2 separate regions of the Homo sapiens genome follow, and region 1 is linked to region 2. Evidence: promoter capture Hi-C in 16 types of primary human blood cells and fetal thymus (Javierre and others, 2016). All regions are on one chromosome and are shown on one strand. Each heading gives the region's core, a stretch centred on a gene start or on the middle of the fragment in contact. The rest is flanking DNA. Distances are from core to core; before and after follow the strand shown. Region 1 overlaps GPR84-AS1 (GPR84, ZNF385A, ITGA5 and GTSF1 antisense RNA 1). Region 2 holds the start of NCKAP1L (NCK associated protein 1 like).

What was found. The method cuts DNA at HindIII sites, captures the fragments that hold promoters and counts their contacts. A CHiCAGO score of 5 or more calls a contact.
Region 1: a fragment that was not itself captured here is called in contact with the fragment with the promoter of NCKAP1L in region 2 in 1 of 17 cell types (M2 macrophages); the score reaches 6.3 in M2 macrophages.

Annotation. Positions count from the first base shown.
Region 1 is chr12:54,430,520-54,435,732 of GRCh38, reverse strand. The region is part of intron 3 of GPR84-AS1 (GPR84, ZNF385A, ITGA5 and GTSF1 antisense RNA 1); the gene reads right to left. Among named protein-coding and RNA genes, the nearest start is that of ITGA5, 14 kb to the right of the region's middle. The HindIII fragment of the contact is 164 bases long and covers 1,873-2,036 here.
Region 2 is chr12:54,494,380-54,499,369 of GRCh38, reverse strand. It overlaps NCKAP1L (NCK associated protein 1 like), which reads right to left and starts at 1,618. Exons shown (of 31, transcript NM_005337.5): 1 at 1,479-1,618; 2 at 1-15. The coding sequence starts at 1,580. RefSeq lists enhancers at 1,427-1,486, 1,597-1,656. The HindIII fragment of the contact is 9,210 bases long and covers 1-4,340 here.

The DNA.
Region 1 (5,213 bases), core at 705-3,204, 64 kb after region 2:
GCTTTAAAAACAGGTTCAGTTTATTCAAATATTTGTTTAGCCAGGCAACGTACTTGGCAGTGGAAAAACAGAAGTAAACAAGATCCTTACCTCACAGAACTTAGTCTAAAAGGAGAGACAAACAGGAAAATACAATATAGTGGGGTAGATGCTGTGACTAGTGAAATCAGGAGTACTGGGTGGGGAATTAATGAATGCTTCTTGGAGGAATCAGTGTTTGTGCTGAGACTTGATCTATAAAATACATTCCATTCAATCCCAGCTACCCGGGAGGCTAAGGCACGAGAAACACTTGAAACCCAGGAGGCAGAGGTTGCAGTGAGCCAAGATCACGCCACTGCACTCCAGCCTGGGCGACAGAGTGAGACTCCATCTCAAAAAAACAAAACAAAAAACAACATTACAGAGAGCACATCAGAGTTTAAATAGATTTCAGATTTATCAACAGACAGAATGAGGCTTTAATATTTATAACCAAGTACTGTAACCATACATATAGTATATTAGTTTAATTATCCCAACAAATCTATGAGAAAGATATTACTGCCATTTTACAGGTGAAGATATTGAGACCCAAGGAGGTTAAGTAACTTGCCAAGGTTACATATCTGTTAAGTAAGGGAGGCAACTTTCAAACTCAAGTCTTTTCAGATGACTTCCCTGTATAAAATAAAAGCACATTAACAAAAAGCAAACATTATCATTAAAAATTCTGGCCAGGCGCAGTGGCTCACGCCTGTAATCCCAGCACTTTGCGAGGCTGAGCCAGGCAGATCACAAGGTCAGGAGTTCGAGACCAGCCTGACCAACATGGTGAAACCCCGTCTCTACTAAAAATACAAAAATTAGCTGGGGGTGGTGGCGCGTGCCTATAATCCCAGCTACTCAAGAGGCTGAGGCAGGAGAATCATTGAACCCAGGTGGCGGACATTGCAGTGAGCCAAGATCGTGTCATTGCACTCCAGCCTGGACAACAGAGCGAGACTCAGTCTAAAAAAAAAAAAAAAAAATTCTATGGAACATGCTTTCATAAAATATTTAGAGTTGCTTCTATCATAGGTGCATTCAAATGTATTCAATTTCTAAATTATACAAGGACTTTATTAATACACTGGATAATTAAGTGCTAGACCATGTACTCCAGACTATAAGCCTAGGACTTCAGAATAGTGGCACATTGCTGAGATTTAGAATGAGCTGGGGAAGTCCAGGCTCAGTGGCTCACACCTGTAATCCCAGCACTTTCGGCAGCCGAGGCAGGCAGATCACTTGAGGTCAGGAGTTCAAGACCAGCCTGGCCAACATGGTAAAACCCCGTCTCTACTAAAAATATAAAAATTAGCCAGGCATGGTGGTTGGCACCTGTAATCCCAGCTATTCAGGGGGCTGAGGCAAGAGATTCACTTTAACCTAGGAGGCAGAGGTTGCAGTGAGCCGAGATCACGCCACTGCACTCCAGCCTGGGTAACAGAGCAAGACTTCATCTCAAATAAATAAATAAATGAATAAATAAATATTTTAAAATAAAATAAAGAGGCCAGGCGCAGTAGCTCACACCTGTGATCCCAGTACTTTGGGAGGCCGAGGCAGGCGGATCATGAGGTCAGGAGATCGAGACCAGCCTGGCTAACACGGTGAAACCCCGTCTCTATTAAAAATACAAAAAAATTAGCCGGGCGTGGTGGTGGGCGCCTGTAATCCCAGCTACTCGGGAGGCTGAGGCAGGAGAATGGCGTGAACCCGGGAAGCGGAGCTTGCAGTGAGCCGAGATGGCGCCACTGCACTCGGGCCTGGGCAGCAGAGCGAGACTCTGTCTCAAAAAAAAAATGAATAAATAAAATAAAATAAAATAAAGAATGAGATGGGGAAGCTTATGCAGGGCTTGGATGGGCCTTGATGACCAGTACAGAGGACAGTGCATTCCAGACACTGGAATCACAGGAGCAAAGCTGAAGACAAAATGGGCACATTAGTGAGACAATACTGAGACACTGAGACCCAAATGACTAAAGCAGAAGGTGTATTAGAAAGAAGCTTTCTGGTTCTCCCAGGTACAGGAGAAGGGAGAGATTGGAGACCTCAGGGTCATTTTACCCCCATTTAAGTGGCCATGGTAGCTGTGACCTACCCCCACTTTTCTAGGAAAAAATATATTCCAGCATTCCCAAGATCTTCTATCTTCATTGTAATCATTTTGTCACCTTGAATATCAAAAGACATATTATTTTCCTAATGCTAGTCCGGGGCTGTACCAATTGACAGACACAATCTTTGCTTCATTCAAGTTTCCAGTCTAATAGGATACAAACAGACAATTCAGAGAACAAAATGGGGCAAACTTAGCCCAAAATAAGAGCATCATGATTCCCTTAAGATGTCAAAGTGCTTACAGCTGTACCATGTAGGAGGCCATAACAAATGCTACATTTAAGAGGACACTAGGCATGGGTGGGGTGGTCCCAGGCTTGATAAGGTTACTTAAGCCCCCAAATCCTTGTGGTCAACCCGAACAGTCACCTGGAAAAGGGCTGATGAACAGGATACCTTTCCTCCAAAGGAATCCTGCCTCTCCTATATGCCCCGAAATGAGCATTGAGTGGGAAGCTAACCAGAGGGAAAAATAGGAGCTGCTGTTAGGGTCAGACAGGATCCAGCAGCCTGCAGCCTGGACCCAAGCGTGCGGAAAAGGCCATTGTCTGAGTGGCTTTCTGGATTTCCTGCCCTCAAACACCTACCCCGCCCAACATGCACACTCAATCTCTTGCCTCCTGCTCTGCCATCACTGTGATTAGCAGGCACTGCCCACCAAGAGGACAACAGACCACTGAGGTTCTCCTAAAGTGAGAAGGGAAATCACCCAGACCCATCCCCAGTGGGGAAAGGCAAAAAGATGACACAGAACAGGGCTTTAAGATTACTAGAGAAAAGTGTTTCCAGATCTTAATGAAGATCCAGGATCCTCCTTATCTCTCAACCCGCACTCATTTCTCCTAGGTCTACTCATCCAGGAGACGTAGAGTTTTCTGGCACAAGTGAGCAACAGCTGGATGGGGGTGGGGGGTGTGTCTATGTAGGTGTCTGTGCCTCCAGGCACGTCCCAGTGGTTTTTATGTGTGGGAGAGGAGAATTCAGCAAACAGGGTGTGGTTGTGGGTGTGTCTCACGTGGGATGAGGTATCTACAGAGCAGTTCTGTTGAGATCCTTGGGCTCCCTGCTCTACCAGCCCTGGCATTGAGTCCATTTCATGACCCTGATGAGACCAGATTCCCAGCTGATGACGCCCATTCCCAATCACCAGCTTCCAGCTCTTTGGCCCCTCCCCCATCCACACGCTTACTCCTCTGGCAGGCTAGCTGGGCTTTTGGCTGGGAACTGAGCTCAAAGCGGAAACAGGCAGTTGGAAGGTGTGATTTATGTCTCTGACTTCACCCCAGGCTGGAGCCCAAACACTTGGACCCTCTCCGCAAGTACCCGTCTGGCAAATTATCTCCTCCCCCTCAAAATCTCAGGCTCTTCTAGCTGGTCAGAGGTCTTCCAGGCAAGCCCATCCTCACTACCATCCCCCCTCTCCACTAACACTACCACTCACACCTCTAACTCCTGCTGATTACAGTGATAGAAGAATTAACTTCACTATTACCCACAGGAGGCAGGATTCTCCTATCAGCCCCAAACAATAGATAAATCCCTCCATATATCTAATTTCCTTCTCTCCTGCTGCTGACCAGCAGTTGGTAGAAACAAAGGGGAGCTAACTCACTCAGAATTCTGCCTCTGGCCTGTCAAGGTCTCTTTGCAGATTTAAGGTAATCCTCAATCCTGTGATTGTTTCTATCTCTAGAGACTTCTTAGAAACATTCTCAAAGACACCAGAGTGCCATTTTCTTGCTCCTGATCAGTAACTTGATGCATATCTTTATCTGCCATTCATCAAGATCTGGAAAGCACACTCCACCCCCCACAATCTGGAAGCCTAGAGTCAGAAAAGATCTTGCTAGGAAGTGAGAATCCTCTAACTCCTTGCAGGGGCTCCCACCATTACCACTTAGAAAATTCTACTAGAAATCTAGTTTCATCTTTTCCCACTTTCAAAGATTCCTCATCAGTCAAATGCCCTTGTTAACTTTAGAGGGCAGTTGAGGAGGATTAAATGAAGAAATCAATTTGAAAGATATAAAATGCTGCTTCATAGTATTATTTTGAGGTTAAATGAGGTCGCATATGTAAAATGCTTAGATCTATACCTGGTACTTGATAACTATTAGCTGTTTTTTCCTGTAATACCTCAAAAATTGGGGAGGGACCTGGGAGTTTGCCCTTCCTAGACATCCAGAGCCCATGGGCTCATTATAACCTTGTTGAATGGGAAGCTCAGATTCCTAGGTTTTAGTTTCTTTTTTTTTCTTCTTCTTCTTTTTTTTTTTTGAGACGGAGTCTCGCTCTGTCACCCAGGCTGGAATGCAGTGGTGCAATCTCGGCTCACTGCAACCTGTGCCTCCTGGGTTCAAGTGATTCTCTGCCTCAGGCTCCCGAGTAGCTGGGATTACAGGCGCGCGCCACCACACCCAGCTGATTTTTGTATTTTTAGTAGAGACGGGGTTTCACCATGTTGGCCAGGCTGGTCTTGTACTCCTGACCTCGTGATCCACCCGCCTCAGCCTCCCAAAGTGCTGGGATTACAGGTGTGAACCACCGCGCCCGGCCCCTAGGTTTTAGTTTCTGAAGGTACATGGTTGCATGAATGAATGAGTCCATGCTCCATTCAGTTTTCTGGGGTCTGGTCTCTCCTTTCCTGGCTTCCTTCCCATCACCCCCTACAGAGCCTTTCCCCTAGATCACTGAGCTCATCCTGGTTACCAATTATTTGTTTATTCCTGGCCCCCACACAAGGACTCCAGCCGCAACCCTGGTTTTCCCCTGAGTTCCTGTATGAGAATCTGAATGTGTTGGGGTAAGATGGAACCTCAAGGATCACCTAGCCCAATTCCTTTGATTTAGGAAAGACAAAATTGGGAGCCAAAGAAGGGCAGACTTGCTCTAGTTGGAACTTCCAAGTCAAGTACCTGGATCCAGCCCAGGGAGTCCCTGTGTGCTTTCAAGGGTAAAAGAATTCTCATCCCCTTCTTCCTTTCTCTCTCTCAGTGAGTAGAATAAATCACTATTTTTAACTGCCTAAAACATGAGCAAAAGCTGGAGAAACGCTCAAGGAAGTC
Region 2 (4,990 bases), core at 369-2,868:
GGGGTCTGAACAAGTCTGCAGAGAGAAACCATATATATTTCAACCCTTTCTCCTCCTCCTCAGAAACATACCTCTTCTTGCAACATTCATTCTCATAATCTGTCTTAGGAAAAGGCAACCTGGGAACTAATTTAAAAAGCATGAGAGGCTGGGCGCAGCGGCTCACACCTGTAATCCCAGCACTTCGGGAGGCCGAGGCAGGCAGATCACAAGGTCAGAAGTTCGAGACCAGCCTGGCCAACATGGTGAAACCCCGTCTCTACTAAAAATACAAAAATTAGCTGGGCATGGTGGTGCACAACTGTAGTCCCAGGTACTTGGGAGGCTGAGGCAGGAGAATCGCTTGAACCCGGGAGGCGGAGGTTGCAGTGAGCCAAGATCGTGCCACTGCACTCCAGCCTGGGCGACAGAGCGAGACTCCGAAAATAAATAAATAAATAAATAAATAAATAAATATAAAAATAAAAAGCATAAGAGTAGGTCAAGAAAAAATTCCAAGACATTAAGCCAAGTATCTAAGAGCGAAATAACAACCTAGGCATTTTGTCTTGATGGGTAGAGTTTAATGCCTGCTTGGCCCCAGCACAAAGAGGAAGCTGTTTCCCCGCCCCTCAACTGAAGCCGGAAGGAACAAGAAAAGCAGCTGCTCAGGAGTTAGACTTTGTACAAGATTCAGTGTCACAATTTTGTTCACTATGTAAGTATCTTATCCCAAAGGGCATTTACAGGATTCATGGTGACAGAGAAACCGTGTTCCTGGTGATTTGTTTTATTACAAAAAACACAAAAGCTCCCTCCCCCAAAGTCCCCTATTTTCTATGCCAGGAACTCCCCATAAACACCCCTGTCTTTATCTCTTTACTTCCTATGGTTTGCCCAGCCCCTAGCCCACCTCTTGTCACTAGCTTCTTTCAATTCCTCAGTTCCTATTCTAAACACACACACACACACACACACACACACACACACAACCACCACAGCATGAACTACCCCAGGAGCAGCTCAGAAGACACCTACCCTTTTTAATCTAAATACCTAATTATCTATTTTTTTTCCTTTTAGGGAAGCACTTCCACAGAAAAGTTTTTGCCAGAGACCCAGCTTCAGATCTCTTCAGAGTGTAGAGGATCAACAATAAATAATAAAACCCAGAAGGTTGGACCCCAGACCTTTATCCAAGTCACTTGGAATACCACTGTTGTTTCCCCATCCCCACCCTCACCCCCATCCCCAGAGGAAAGCAGATGCCATCGTTGGGGCAAGAATCATATCTAGAAAGGGGAAGCCTTGAAAAGAAGCCTCCACTTCTGCCTTCCTGAACTGGCTGGCCTGTATAATCTGAGTGATTATGTAGATTATAGTCAGTGGAAAAGCAGTGGAAAAAAAGGTGGGAGTCTAACTGCTGCACCTGCCGCCTCAGGGTTCCCTGCCCTATTATTGTTGGAATAATCAGTACTAGTCCCATTGTTCATGCTTACCTTCTTGATGTTATACATACGGATGAGAACCCCCTGACCGCGATCATTCAGGATAGTGAGCTTCTCTGCTAATTTATGCTGGTAAGCAGATGTCAAAGACATGATGGCCACTGAGAGAGGAGCACCAGACAGCAATGTCTGATCTCCCCAAACACTTTCAGCTTAGATGGTGACACCCTCTGGCGGAGGGACCCAGCCTGGTTGGTGCACTGGTCTTCTGTTGCCTCTGCAATTGGCTCATGGGTGAAATCAGTCATTATGGCTCACAGGCCCTCAGAGCCTTCTTGTGCTTCCTCTTGCACACTCAGCAGGGGAGACTTCCTCTTTCTGGCTGTGCAGCACTTTTGGTAAGGCTATGAAGTGGGTGGAGCTGAGGAGAAGGACAGGCTTTCAAGGCTCTTCACAGACTGCACCAACCTTTTTGGTCTTATGCCCCCATAAGTGTCCTAGACAAAGCTGGGCGTGGTGGCTCACACCTGTAATCCCAGCACTTTGGGAGGAAAAGGTGGGAAGATCCATTGAGCTCAGGAGTTCCAGACCAGCCTGGGCAACATAGCAAGACCCCATCTCTATAAAAAATAAAAATTAAAAGCTGTAAGCTAGATAAACAAGTATCTACCACCCCACCCCTGTACACCTCTATATTTTCCTTCTTTTATATCCAAGAATGCCTATGAACCTTTGGCCTCATCATGTTTTAGTACCCAGATCAAATCCCATCTTCTCCTAAAGACCCCATCAATGTCAAATATTATATTGTATTATATTTTATATTGTCAAATACATATATTCCTTGTTATATGTTTATAGTGTACGTTGTATCTCCCCCAACTACAGCATAAGCTCCTTAATGACAGGAATTGTACCTAATACTTTTTTTTCTTTTTTTTTTTTTTTTTGAAACAGAGTTCCACTCTTGTTGCCCAGGCTGGAGTGCAATGGCATGATCTCTGCTCACTACAACCTCCACCTCCTGGGCTCAAGCAATTCTCCAGCCTCAGCCTCTGGAGTAGCTGTGGTTACAGGTGCCCACCACCACGCCTTGCTAATTTTTGTATTTTTAGTAGACATGGGGTTTCACCGTGTTGGCCAGGCTGCTCTCGAACTCCTGACCTCAGGTGATTTACCCGCCACAGCCTCCCAAAGTACTGGAATTACAGGCATGAGCCACCACACCCGGCCTCTAATACTTTTTTATATTTCTCACAATGCTCTACTACAGTGCATTGTACTTCTACAGTACATAATAATTCTCAAAGTAGTTCTCAAGAAGTACATAGTAATTCTCAAAATGTGATCCAGCAGCATCAGCATCACCTGGAAACTTGTTAGAGATGCAAATTCTTAGGACCCGCCCCAGACCACTGAATCCAAAATTCTGGGGTGGGTCCAGGCACTCTGTGTTTTAACAAACCCTCCAGGTGATTCCAATGCACACTCAAGTTTGAGAACCAGTGCTCTAGTACCATGGTATTTATGGATGCTTGAGAAACAGATCAATCCCTGTCCTCTGAGATTAGCATTGGTAGGTAGGCGAGTCTGTTGTGGGGCCTAGAAGTCTGTACTTATATAAGCACTGTTGTAGGAGGTTTTGGTACAAATATTCCATTCTGAAAAACACTGATCTAGAACAATACCTCTTGGACACAGTAGTCACTCAATAAATATGCTGGTTTATTTGTTGAATTATTAAGACTAAATTAGGAAATAGGCCCCATGAAGAAGAACCAAATTAATCAAGATTAAAAAGAGGAAATTAGTAATCACCCTTAAATCTTAGAGACTTGAATGAATTTTAGCATTAAAATATTCTTGCCATTCCAATGAGGCCTTAACTCCGTAACTCAAGAAAATTTTCAACTCTATTTCAACTTTCTTTCAAGACACAAAGCAAAAGGTCCTAGGAAAAATTATAAATCAAAAAGAGTTCTCTTCATTTCCACCACCTTGCCAATTCCTTTTCTCAGGTTTTTAATCATTCCCATTTTCCGTATCCAGAGTTCCCATTGTCCCAATAAATTCTAGGGAGTGGGAGAAGAGAGACAAGGCTGATCAGCATTATTACTTAAGAAGTTGGGGCCAGGTGAAGTGGCTCATGCTTATAATCCCAGCACTTTGGGAGGCAAAGGTAGAAGGATTGCTTGAAGCCAGGAGTTCAAGACCAGCCTAGGCAACATTGTGAGACCTTCCCCCACCCCTCTACAGATAAAATAAAATAAATTAGCCTGGTGTGGTGGTACATGGCTGTAGGCCCAGCTCCTCAGGAGGCTGAGGTGGGATGGTCGCTTGAGCCCAGGAGTTCAACACCGCACTCCAGCCTGGTCGATAGAGCAAGACTATGTCTCTAAATAAATAAATAAATAAATAAATAAATAAATAAAGGCAAGAAAGAAAAAAAAACTTGAGTACTGTGTTCACTATTTGGGCATGGGTGATGGGTTCATTAGAAGCCCAAATCTCAGCATCACACAATATACCCATGTAACAAACCTGCATGTGTATCCCCTGAATCTAAATGTTTTTTAATTTTAAAAAGAAACTTAACATCCATGCTCCAAAGAGAATGTATTTTTAAAAGAAGCAGCAAGATGGCAACACTTAACGCATGAAATTTCAAATATCTCTAAGGTAGAATTTGCATTTTAGGAATATAGAATCTGCCTTCCATTTTATTTACTAGACTGGGTCCCTAGAAAGCTATGGGCTCGAGGTAATGTGATATTGGTCATGAAGATTTGAATTACCTGCTGTTATCAAAGAAACCCAGGTTTTACTAAAGCAATTTGTAGGATTTCTACTGGTCTTTTACCTTTACCAAGGAGAATATGGAGCAGACAGTAAGAGGCCAACATCCAGGAAGCTTAGCAGCAGCATAGCACCGGTCTTCGTGGGGTTAGTGTAATTCTAGCGGCTCTTTCTTGCATTCCTTTTTTTTTTTTTTTTTTTTTTCCTGAGACAAGCTCTCGCTCTGTTGCCCAGGCTTGAGTGCAGTAGTGCTATCATGGCTCACTGCAACCTTGACCTCCCAGGCTCAAGAGATCCTCTCACTTCAGCCTCCTGAGTAGCTGGGACTTCAGGTGCAGGCCACCACGTCTGGCTAATTTTTGTATTTTTTGTGAGCCACCTCACTTGAATTTCTTGTCTTTATCCTGAAAGTGTGGTTGAAGACTCTGCATCCCAAGCTAATCTTGTTTCCTGCTCCTTAATGGATACTCCCCAACTTGGTGGGGACCATCTTCTCAGCCTGCTGTGAATGTGCTATGTTCATGTCTGCCTCTCTGACTTCACTTACGCATGCTTTCCTTCTTGCTTACCCAAATCCTAGTCAATCTTCAGGATCTAGCTCAATAGTCCCAAGTCTAGGTTTTGCCGAACTCCCACAACACTTGGTCTATACCACATACTTTACATCTAAATCAGGTTCTGTCCTTAACTGCCCATTTCATATAATACTGCCTAGCCAGCTGAACCAAAAGATTGTTGAAACCTGGAAACACTTATTCCCCTGTACT